Regions from separate parts of the Homo sapiens genome. Here region 1 is linked to region 2. Evidence: promoter capture Hi-C in 16 types of primary human blood cells and fetal thymus (Javierre and others, 2016). All regions are on one chromosome and are shown on one strand. The core of a region is centred on a gene start or on the middle of the fragment in contact, and the rest is flanking DNA. Distances in the headings are between cores, read along the strand shown.

Region 1 (6,393 bases), core at 3,894-6,393, 200 kb before region 2:
CTGTGTTTAGATGAGAGGCAATATGAGAAATTACCTCCCTCTACCTGAAATTTACAATTTAACTTAAAATAGCAAGATCAGGATCTATGGCCTAATTAAAATGAAAAACCCATCATTTCTTTGTGGGTTTCACATCATGCACAATGTATAACCAAACTCTGGAATAAGGTGGCTTCACTGATCACCTCTGTAGTGTGGTAACTCAAGATTGCATGTGAATCCTTCGCACCAAGGCATCTTTAGTCAAGTGAAATTGGCTGGAGCCTCAGAAAAGGTAACAGCTGCAAAGCCAGCATCTAATGAATAACATTTGCATTTTCCAAGTCAGAGAAAGGTTTGCTGCTAAATATATCATGTGGCCAATCACCTCACAGTATAGCACTGCCGTGATGAATGAGGCAGAAAACTGCACAGAGCAGGGACGGCCAGGAAAGCTGGGACAGCTGCGGCGTGCAGAGGGCCAGCGCCACAGGCTTCTGGACTGTGGGCTTCCACAGTCAAAATCCCACCTCATGTTTCAGTGAGGGGCCAGCAGATGCCCAGGTTTTGTTCAAAGAGATGTGCCAAAGAAGATACTTTTTTGCTTGCTATTCAGCTCCTCAGGAATACATACTGTGGCAGATGGTTGTGGACAACAGACTATATGGGAAAATGGATCTGAAATTTGAATTCTTCATTTAACAAAACTTGAAGCTAGACAGACAATGTGGAAGTATGTCCAGAAAATAAAATGTATACTAAAAATGCCCTTCCCATTTGAAGAAAGCAATACTATTAACGATCTCAGAATATACAAGATTGTATTGAGAACCCTGCACTATTCCCAGTAAGAGTGCAATGGCCCACAAGCCTGGGTGAGGATTCAGATTGCCTGAGGGGCTTTAAAACTTCAGATTCCTAGGATTCTTTTCACCCAGAGGGAGACTCTAATTCCCTGGGTTTGAGGTAGCACGAGAGACTTAAACAATAGCCCCAGAAGATTGTAGCCAATCAAGCACGTCAGTTATGTTTGGGAGCAACCATGGGAGGGAACACAAAAGAAGTCTTAGATGTTGCTCCTAAGCTCAAAGAAGATACTGAATAGGAATTCCATTGCTGGAATAAAATGAATTAAATATCTTTAAAAAATTCCTCCTACTATAAAAATAAAACAAAATATCAATTTTCCCCCAAATATATGACTGAGCTTTCAAGAAGGTAGATGTAACTGTCAGAGGCCAAAGGCAAGATGGAAACATGAACTTGGAGTGTTTAGAGGAGCAGTCCCTTTGAGGGGAGCAGTCCTTTTGAGAGCATGTGATGATCTACAGTGATGGAGAGCTTTAGTTTCAGTGACTTATGGGGACAGAGGATAAAACCAATACTTGTAAGATGAGAAGCTTGTTCAGAGATCCTCAGGTAAAGCCAGGACCACCTAAGGGAACTACACCTGAAGTGAAAAGGTAAAACTTATCACTACAATAATGCACCCTAAAAAGTAAACAACCGGGACACTTGTCCCCTGAAGATTATAAACTACAAGTCAGCCCTCATGCCTCTTTGGGGATTTAATCCACTCTTCTTTTGTGATCCAAAATATACCAAGCTGAGAATTTTGTTTGAAGAGTTGACTTCACTATATAAAATTCTAAAAATTGTGAACTATTCTATAGAAACAAAAAAGCATATCCATGGTTGCCTGGGAATTTGGGGTATAGGGCCAGAAGCGGAAGGAGAAAAGGGTTAAAGAATAGGAGAAAACTTTGGCAGGTGACACATATGCTCATTATCTTGATCATGGAGATGACTTTATGGACATATACACCTGTACATTGGTCAAAACTGATCAAATTGTACATTTAAATATACATAGTTTATTTTATGTGAAGAATACCTCATCAAAGCTGTAAAAAGTAAACAATGAATAAGTTAAAAAGCAGGTTAGACACAGGTGAAGTGAGAGTGAACTGAAAGGCAGATAATTACACAGAATGCTGCAAAGATAAAAATGAGAACTGTAAAAGAGCAAAGATATAGAAATATGAATAAGAATGTATGATGAGACAATGATGAGAATTTTTTAGAATTGATAAAAAATATAGGTTTCTAGATTCAGGATATGTATACAATCTCAAGTCAAAAAAGTAAAATTATTATTTCAAAAACGATGAATGAGAGGATCTCAAAAGTGGCCAGAAAGAAAAGAGAAATTACAAAGAAAGAAACAACTATACTAACAGGTGTTTTCTCAATAGGAATGATAAAATCCAGAAAATAGAATAAAATGTTCAAAATGTTGCAAGTATAAACTATCAACCTAAAATTGCATATCTAGCAAGATTATCTTTAAAAAATAAGGGCAAAATATGGGTATGCTGGCATGTGCTTGTAGACCCAGCTACTCAGGAGGCTGAGGTGGGAGGATCACTTAAGCCCAGGAGTTGGAGGCCAGTGTGGGCAACACAGCAAGACCTCATCTCAAAAAAAAAAAAAAAAAAAAAAAGATAAGGGCGAAATGAAGACATTTTTGGACAAACAAAAACAGAAAATGTATTAGCAACAAATACTAAAGGAAATTTTTAGAACTCAATAAAATTGGTTAAATTGGGGGGGAACTGACTGTTTAAAATAATGTTATATGTGTTTTAAAGGATAAAACTTTATTATTAGACAAGAGCATATGGTTAGATGTGTGTGTGTGGACCTAAGGTGTCCTAAAGGATAGTAGAGTGTGATGAGCATTACAATTTAAGCTAGATATGCATTTTAGAAGTTAAAGGGCAACAATCTCTAAAAAAGTAGAGGATATAATCTCCAGACCAGTGGAGGGGAAAAAAACGTAAAAAACAAAAACAATCCAAAAGTAAAAATCAATCCAAAAATAAAAAATAAAGAAAAAAAAGAAAGATGAAACCAATCACAAAATGTGACAGAAATAAATCCAATTATATTGGTAATCATGAAATGATAATGTAAATAGACGAAATTTTCTAGTTAAAAGATAATGATTGTCAGATTGGTTAAAAATATAAAAGCTAGCTATATAAATCATATAAACACAGAAGAGTTGAAAATTATTAAAAACACACTAGGAAGCCAAAATAAAGCTGGTACAGTTGTATTAATATCAGACACAATAGATTACAGGCAAAAAGCAGTTTTATAGATTATGTGGGTCACTACATAATGACCAAAAATTCATTTTGCCAAGATAATTTTAACCTGGTGCACACCAAAGTAACACAGCTTCACAGTACATAACCACAAAATCTGTAGTACAGATGTGTTGAAAAACAAGCCTCTTAAAAAAGAGTGTGGTCTCTGGGGCAAAGTTGTGATAATGAAGGTCACTGAAGAAAAATATGAATCCTTTATTGAATCCTTCTAGCTTCAGGTGAGAAATGGTTTCAGTTTTTCTTTTCTACATAACTGCACATTACTGTTAACCTTTCAGGCAACACTAAACTCTTTCTGGGCTTATGGTCATCTGCATACCTTACCTAATTTATATAATAAAGAAACAGGTACAGATTATTATTGTCCTTCCTAGAAGAACTGATCTTGAAAAATACAGGCTGAAACTGTTTTTGTTTCCCACATTTTAAAAGAAAAACGAGGACACATGACATATATCATGCATTGAATATACAGAAGGAAGTATGGAAAACTAGCCTAGCAACCAATTTGGACATAGATTTTTAGACTTCCTTCTATTTGTCTGTCACCAGAAGCTTTAACATAAATAAATCCAATAAAGGAAAAACATGAAATCAAGCTTTGTGTACATATATATTAATGAGACTAAAGAACGGTGATGTGCACAAGTCAGACCCATCTCTAGAACTTGGCAAATATGGAAACTGGAAAATGAATAGATGCCACAGAGATGCAAATACAGAACTGACAAAAGTTAAGAAAGCAGACTTCAGAAAATCTCCATCAGGCCTCAAGAGCAGGATCTGAAATATTCATGCAAAAAGCCAAAGGCCTCTACAGCTGAAATGACACAGCAAAACTAAATCTCAGCTAAAATGGAAGAAGTGTCTGTAAGAGACAGACCTGAATGCAAATGTGTCAAGGAAATACTCTTTGGATTCAAAAAGGAGGTTCTCCAAAAACAAACCAACAGAAAACAAACCAACAAACCAAGAGAAACCAACACAAACAAGCAAAACAGTAACCCAAACCAAAATGTGTCCTATACTTTGTGATGTGAAAAATCACAAATAAAATATTTAATCCAGTAGGGCTCATGAATCCTGAATTCAGCTCAAGTCACCTGAGTGCTCGCTCCTTGTCAGAAAGACTCAAGAAAACTTCCTCTCATGGAACTCAAGGAGCTTCCCCATGAGGCCTGCCCTCCTACCAACACCCTACCCAGTTCCCCAGTGGTTTTCTCCTGAGTCCTGTTCACAGTGGATCCTATTCTGTTAACTAGTAAATGTTGATAACTTTTACCCTGTACCTCCCCAACAAATCAGCAAGTTAGTGGAGGAATTCCAGAGACAATGCTTTAACTCAGTGTTTATTTTAGCCAAAGGGAAGCCCAGTACAGAAACAATCAAAAGTTGAAATCTGATTGAAGTAGGAAAGCCCAGGGCTCTACAGAGCACAGTTGAACTATGGCCCTATCAATAAAAGTATCAACAGCAATGGATTAAAATGTCTCAATTATTTAAATCTATGAGTTCTTAATGACATTTTAAGAAGTCCTCATTCATCATTTTTGCAAGTTATTTTGAAAGCTAACTCATATACAAACTATTTCAGGGTAAGTAAACTGTTGATGAATGGAAGTTCTGTCATAAAAATTTCCTAGATAATAAATGAAAAGAAATGATAAAATTTAAACAGCAATAGTATGCAGCTTCAAATGAAATAACAAATCTAAGTAAAGATCATGAATGGCCTTTAACTTCGCAGAGGGGCAATCAAATGCTGTGTGCTTACTGACACAAGTAAACACTTACTATGAAGTATTTATACCAAAAGACAAAATAAAAAGTCCTGAATCTGATCAAGCCCCTTTCTCCAACTACCAGTTTCACAAGACATATGGAAGGCAGAGGAGCACGCTAAACACCACAATAAGGATGAAATCAGCAAATCTAGAATGTGGGAAACTCCAAAAAAGACCTGTTTTGTTCAATAAATAAATTGCAAAAAACTTACAAACTAAGATAGTTGAGACAACTCAACACATTGCAAGGTATGGACCTTATCTAGATCACATTTCAACAAACTAAATTAAAAAGAAATTTATAAGACATTTGGGAAAATGTGAACATTAATGGAATATTTAATATTACAGAAGTACTAGTTTTTTAGAATAGTATGATTAATTACGTTTTTAAAAATCCTTATCTTTTAGAGGTACATATCAAAGTACATATAAAAAAACCCCGATAATTAAGTTTGTTAAAAAGTAATCTGGTGAACAGGTGGGGAGTTGATGAAACAACACTGGTAGGGAATTGATAATTGCTGGAGCTGGGTGACAGTACACAGGGGTTTATTCTACTCTCTCTACTTCTGTATGTTTCTATTAAAAAGATTCAGAAAGAGTTAACGGGGGCACATAGCAACCAATTGTATTATACGAGGCTTTATTTGAATCCTGATTCAACCAAATCATAAAAAAAAAAATTTGAGAGTATCAGGGATACCTGAGCCAGGAGCGGTGGCTCACGCCTGTAATCCCAGCACTTGGGGAGGCCGAGGTGGGCGGATCACGAGGTCACGAGTTCGAGACCAGCATGACCAAAAAGGCAAGACCCCATCTCTGCTAAAAATACAAAAATTAGCCGGGCATGGTGGCGGGCGCCTGTAATCCCAGCTTCTCGGGAGGCTGAGGCAGGAGAATCGCTTGAACCTGGGAGGAGGAGGTTTAAGCGAGCTGAGATCGTGCCATTGCACTCCAACCTGGGCGACAAGAGCAAGGCTCTAAGAAAATAAAATAAAATAAGAAAGAGAGTATCAGGGATATCTGAACACTAACTGGATATTTCGTGATATTTACAACCCTATTAATATTTTAGGTGTGATAATGGTATTGAAAAGCACCCTTGTCTTTTGGAGATCTGTATCAAAATATTTACGGATGAAATGACTTACTGCCTGGGATCTCCTTCAAAATTATCCAAAGCATCGGGATGGGGAAACAGTAATAAAGATAAAATAAAGACTAAGAGCTGATAATTGTTGAAGCCAGGTGATGGGTAAAGGGGGCTCCTTATACCAAGGTGTCTACACCTTCAAATGTTAAAACACTAAAAAAAAAAAATCTGTGGCGTTAGAAGTCAGGATACCGGTTACCTTTGGAGAGACTAAGTGGGGGCCGCAATAAGGGCTTCTGGAGCGGTAGGAATGCTCTTGCTTCCTACACAGGTTTACTCGCTTTGTGGTAATTCATCA
Region 2 (6,369 bases), core at 3,680-6,179:
GTGATTTAGGTAAAAACTCAATCAGGAAATTTAGAACAACTTTTTCTATAAGGTTTATATTTTCCTTATAATTGAAGCATACAATATGACCTGTGAATGCTGATTTTTCAAACACCATTATCAATCTTTTTGCCTTTCTACATCACCATTAAATTAGGGACAAGGATCTAACTTGTAAAATAGGCTCATCACAGCACACGTTGTAAAAAAATAAGAAACAAAACCTTATGAGATAGAATCTACTAATATTTTTTAAAGGGAATAGAAAAAGCTTAGTATCTGTGTTTTTCTTGATTAACAAATACATGCTCACTCTAAGATGCAAATAATATAGAAATGGATAAATCAAAAAGTGCTATTCCACCGGGCGCAGTAGCTCATGCCTGTAATCCCAGCATTTTGGGAGGCCAAGGCAGGTGGATCACTTGAGGTCAGGAGTTCGAGACCAGTGTGACCAACATGGTGAATCCCCATCTCTACTAAAAATACAAAAAATTAGCCAGGCGTGGTGGCGGGCAGCTGTGATCGCAGCTACTCGGGAGGCTGAGACAGGAGAATCACTTGAACCTGGGAGGCGGAGGTTGCAGTGAGCCAAGATTGTGCCACTGTACTCTAGCCTGGGTGACAGAGCCTGACTCTGTCTCAAAAAAAAAGTGCTATTTATATTGATTTATAATGTTTACAGATCTAAGTAATTGATCTTGTGATTTACATATGGTTCTAGAACACTGATCATTATCATCAGATTGCTCAACCGGCTAGGACATTCCTTATTCCATAATACTAATAGCTTCTAAAATAACATTTGATATACTCAGAACTATCTTCTAGAGAGAACATCCAGTGCTGAATAGGAATTCCATTTAAAAGCATGGCTCTTAAAACGAGCATTTACAGTTAATGTTAATGCCATCCAGAAGAAGACGGAGCAAGACACTGACCATCTGTTTTGGAGAATCACAGCATGTCAGCAAAAGGGTCTCACAGATCATCCCATGAAGTGGACAGGGCAGGAGGAGACTATAAACAAGCCCGTAGGTGAATTCTAATACACACACACACACACACACACACACGCACACCTCGAAAATTACTTATTTATCCCATTTTGTCATTTCACAGATGAGAAAATTGAGATCCAAGCAAGTAAAGCAACCTGTCAAGTCATGCATATAGGAAATGCAGAGATTGGATGAGAACAGCAGTGTTCTGACTCCCAATCTGGTCTTTTTCTACTCCACCAAGCCACATGAGAGGGCACCTTTTGCACGTTAGTGCAGAACAACTCAGCTTCGATTTGTCCCTAAGGTTAAGTGTCCAAACATGTCTCTGTTGTTTCACAAGCTCTCAGTCTAACAAAAGGACCTGAATGGCTTTGGTTATTGGTGGTAGATTTTTTGTTATTCTTGCTGTTGTGTGTTTTGCTTTTGGAAAGTGGAGAGAAATTTAACTAAGACCTAAGTAAAAGTATCATTATTACTTGACAAACTAACGGTCATACAGGTTTTAAAGTTTAGAGTGAAAGAAAAATAGCAGTTGGATCAATCAGGCACCACACACACACATGCACACACGCACGCACACACGCACGCACACACACATGCGCGCGCACACACGCGTGCATGCACACACACACGCACACCCATGGTGATATATAGTGTTCTGTTTCTCTGTGTGAAGGTGAGTGGCTCACTGTTACAATGTTTGAGGAGAGAGAACCCCAAGTGTGCTCAGCCCTGGGCAGGAGGAGAATGTGTCACTTTAAGTCCTTTCCTCTTTAGCTGAGTCATGGTACAACCACGATGGTCTCCAAAAAAAGTGTCTCCAGCCCTCCACAACCAGGGAAAAGGTCACCAATAACACAGAGCTCAAGCAGTTGGGGAAGTGGGTGAAAGGGAGAATAAAATGTCCACAATATAACTGAACTCTCTTTGCACGTTCATCTAAGTTGAAAACTTTTATCCCGAGACAAACTTTCCCCTGCATTGAGCTGTGTTGAATACAGCTGCATTCAGTGAAGCTAAATCTGCCATTTCTGCCATTCGTGAAGATGAATATCAATACATTAAACTCTACACTCTTTTATTTTATAAGAATTTAGAATTTAGAATATCTTCACTCAGTGTGTGCCCAACTCTAAAGCTGTGAGGAATAATATCTGCTCTGATAGATCCTTGGTATAGTATTAAGCAAGAATAATGACACAAATTATAGGAGACTCATTCTGTTCTCTGTATTAACAAAATACAGTACTCTTCAGTGTTAATATATGACCCTTAAAAAATATATAACTGACACTGATTGACTCCTACTACTTGCCAAACATTATGTTAAGTGTTTTATGCCGATAGTTGTATTTAATTCTCACAACTCCATTATGTTGACGCAATTTTACATTTGGGGACACTGAGATTTAGAGCAGTTAAGTACCTGCCCCGAGGCCCATAAACAGTAGGCAACGAAGCTGAAATTCAAACCAAAAGTAGTACAACAACAGAGACTGTGCTCTACTCACTCTAATTTGACTCACATCCCAGCACACAGATCTACAGGACACACATCCTAACATAATTTAAAATGTGTATAAGAAATTGTAATTTAGTTATGTGTACAGTTTTGGCAGAAATTAACGAATAAAATACTGTGTGTCTCAAATTCTGGATCACTTCAAACTGGAATTCCCCCAATGATATCACAAAAGAGCCTCTGATGACCCCCAAATAATCACACACTGGAAGTTTCCACAAATGCCAACTCACTCTTTGGCGGTGAGTGAGTAAAGATAGATTGAGTGGTAGTGACTTCGATGAAACTAGTCGATGGCTTTTATTCTTCGGGTAGCTAAAATTCATTTCCCCCAGTATCCAAGAAATATTTTCACAGCAATGACTTAACAACTTAAATGGAAATATTGAATACACTTTTTTCTTTAAAAGAAAACTGCATATCCTCAGCTTCTTAATCTCAAGCCATAGTCATGCTAGCAGTGGGGCTGTTTTCTGAGCCACTGGCCTACCCACCTTGTGCTTTCCTTGTCTTTAATTTAATTGCCTTCCTTGTCTTTAACAAATGACTCTGCTGTCATTTGTTTCCTATTGTGTTGCATCTGATGCTTTTACTCAGTAAACAAAACTAGAATGTGTTCTGTGATGTTGTTTTAGTTGAGCACAAAATTCAATACATTATCAAGAGAAATGAAACTGAAAGGAGCAAGTCAAGATCGCAGACCTGCGTTTTCTTCTGGGGCCACAGTTGCTGATAAATGATGCAATAATGCCCTCGACAATCTATTCCAGCTACCTCTTGATCTGAAGATCTATGGAAATGGAGTAGTTAGGGGAGGTGGTAGGGTAGCAGTAAAACACTTTCAATTGTTATTAGAATAATTTTGCATCCGCAAGCTGGCAAACGCTATTCACGTCTCTTTACATTGCTCGTTTTATGATGCTCCTAAAGAAAATCCTTGAAAAAAGGAGAAGAAAAAAGAGGTCTGACTAATGGAACAAAAGCTACATCACAGTCTAGTTCTGTCATGTTTTCTCATCCTTAGTAAGATGATGGTTCAATTTTGAATAAAGATTAATTACTTGAATGTGGTTAAAGCATAGTCTAGCCAAATTAATTTTTAAAATGAGAGTCCAGCTATTTTTATCTTATTCTTCACATCCCAGGTGATTTCAATCAGTAAATTTCATAGCAGTGAATATTTTTAAAAAGTATGCTTGGCCATTGGCTTTTACCCATTCGGCATCTCTCTGAATTAAAGTATTAATATTGGGAAACATAACGAGTCTCTCGGAGTGACCTTGCTGACCTATTTTTGACAACATGATTTCGGCTCCCTCATGGCTTGCGATGATAGGTGCTGGTAACATTATCCTTTATGACTAATCTAATTGAAGCAAGTTAGACTTTTAAAAACTAGTTGTGTATGTTAGCTTGACTAGCTTGCTACGCCCTATTTGGTGCTTGGAAAACCAGGCACTGGGTGAATGCTTTTCAATTGCGTCTGTAACTTAGTTTTTCCCTCCTACTGACATAAATGATCCATCTTAATCCTCCCATTCTAGCTGCATATTGTTTTCCAAAACTAAAGCTATATGCCCCAAAACCTTTGCCTTCTATCATGTGGCAGATGACATCTTCCACTGACAGTGAATAATAAATTTACACTCAACCCGCATGGGGAACCTGAACACATAAGCTCCCCACATGCAGAACTATTTCCAAGTGACATTCCCTTCTCTCTTTCCCTTCTACTTCAGTGATGCAGAATAACCATCATATAACAATTAACAATCCTCCTTTAGGGGGATGCTGAATGGAAAGAAAAGAACAGGAGAAGGGCACCTCAATCCAGGTAACGTATTAACAAAAACCCCAGAGCAAACCACAGTCCTTAACAGACACCCTGATAAGGCTCCCAGGACACAGTACTGAGGAAGAGCAAATTCTCCAGTGGGACACATCTCACACGCCAGTGGCTCCTGGTTCTCCCAGCCACATGATCTGTGCCAAAATTCAGATTTAACGCAGTGTCCTCTTTAGTCCCAATGTAATTCTATTTCTAGTTTTGCCAGCCTTAGTTCTGCAAAGCATCAGTATTCTCTTACCAAAAAAAAGTATTAGCTGAAATTCTGGGCCATCTATCACTTATACCCTTTGGTTAAGGACTACTCCCAGTAAGGTATTTTCTGTTGAAGATGCCCACAGCAGTATCCACCCAGGAACCTTGAAAAGGAAGCAGAAATGATTGCATGGGTAACTTACCAGCTCCTGAGGTCTGAATGGCTGCAGCAGCCCCACTCCTTTACCTGATCCCTGCTCTCTCTGTCTCTCTCCCTCTCTCTCTCCCTCTTTCTCTTGTGTACAGATTGCAGGGAACTTAAAGAACTCGCAGGGACAGTGTTTCGAATGACTTAAGAAAGAGAACAGGAACAATACTTCGTTCTCTTTTTCTCAGATGAGTACCTTCGGGAAGAAGGAAGGAAGGGAGGGGAGAGGGAGGAAGTCAACAACCCTTTGCTTTCCTGAAAAAAAATAAGGAAACAGAAGATAGACATCTCATTTTCTCTTAAACAAAATGTTGGAAGGGGCAAAAAAAAAAAATCTTTGAAAAAAGGAATTCCTCAAATATGTTCTCTGCCCTGGGAGCTTTAAAGAGATGAAACGCCTTAGTGGCCTGTCCTGTCCAAACAAACGGTGTTCCAGACAGGCAGGCTCTCCTGAGCCTGCAGCCTCTGGTATCTGGTTTGCAGAACTGACACAGCCGAAAGGGAACAAATCATGTCATGTCGACTTAGAGCAAGGGAGAGCTTGGCCTGTTGTGCTAACCAAGGTAAACCTGCAGCCTGTAAGACAGTGTCGGGGCTGGGCAGCCAGGACTCCTGGCTTTTCTTAGGCCCTTTGAAACACCAGCATTGCTGCAATTCCTCGCTGACTCTAGATCCTTAGAGTTTTTCCAGGATCAAATAGCAGATTTATGCCCACCGAACTTTATACAGTGGACCCAATCCAGCTTCCATCACTGATGGATGAAAAAGGAAAAGAAGCAACTAACCACAACTGCTGCCGGCCATGGTTATCTCAGATCTGTTGTTTATATTATTCTATCCTCTACATTCCTAAGGCGTCTTGGATTTAATCACCTCTGGAAAACTGGAAGGAGATTTCTAATTTGTTTTCAAAATACTGTGAAGCAGCATAGGGTTTAGATAAATCAGCCATGGTGTTCGAAAAAAGATAGGGGAGGCAGGAGCAGTTAAAATGGAGGGAGTAACCTTTATCAAGGTAGAAGACTTGGGGCTTCAGCAGGCAGGCATGAGCTTGCTTAGGCTAGTTGCACTTAGGAATAAGCTTGGTTTTAACTTCTCTGATTTGTGTTATGTCTCTTGTGTCCCTTATTCATCTGGTTAGGACCATTTTCACTGTGAACAGGAACCAGCAGTTATGTAGACCTTTGTGGCAGCAAAAGAAAAACCAGCCTTACACTACTTCCTCATTTCACCCAACTGTGAAAAAAATGGGGTGGACAGATACACCTGATTGCAAAGAGTCATGAAAGTGAGTTCAGGGGAAGAATGATTCTGATTCAGTGACCCTGTAAGATTTTGATTGAGTCCTTATTGGCCTATAGGATTATGTTTTTATTCTGACAGATATTTTTCTATCATCTATCTGTCTATCTATCATCTATCTATCTATCTATCTATCTATCATCTATCTATCTAATCTATCCATATATCTATCTATCTCCCTGTCTATCTAGTTATCTGAATATGTGTGCATGTATCAGAGAGAGACATGAAGATTTTGTTACTCGGTAGGTGTGCACAAGCCAGAGCAGAGTCCCATTCCTTGCATCCGCCA

Evidence for each region. The method cuts DNA at HindIII sites, captures the fragments that hold promoters and counts their contacts. A CHiCAGO score of 5 or more calls a contact.
Region 1: a fragment that was not itself captured here is called in contact with the fragment with the promoter of ZNF366 in region 2 in 1 of 17 cell types (monocytes); the score reaches 5.7 in monocytes.

Annotation. Positions count from the first base shown.
Region 1 is chr5:72,301,424-72,307,816 of GRCh38, forward strand. The region is part of intron 2 of MRPS27 (mitochondrial ribosomal protein S27); the gene reads right to left. Among named protein-coding and RNA genes, the nearest start is that of MRPS27, 16 kb to the right of the region's middle. RefSeq lists enhancers at 1-864, 424-653. The HindIII fragment of the contact is 2,782 bases long and covers 3,753-6,393 here.
Region 2 is chr5:72,502,481-72,508,849 of GRCh38, forward strand. ZNF366 (zinc finger protein 366) reads right to left here and starts at 4,930. Exons shown (of 5, transcript NM_152625.3): 1 at 4,771-4,930. The HindIII fragment of the contact is 5,585 bases long and covers 270-5,854 here.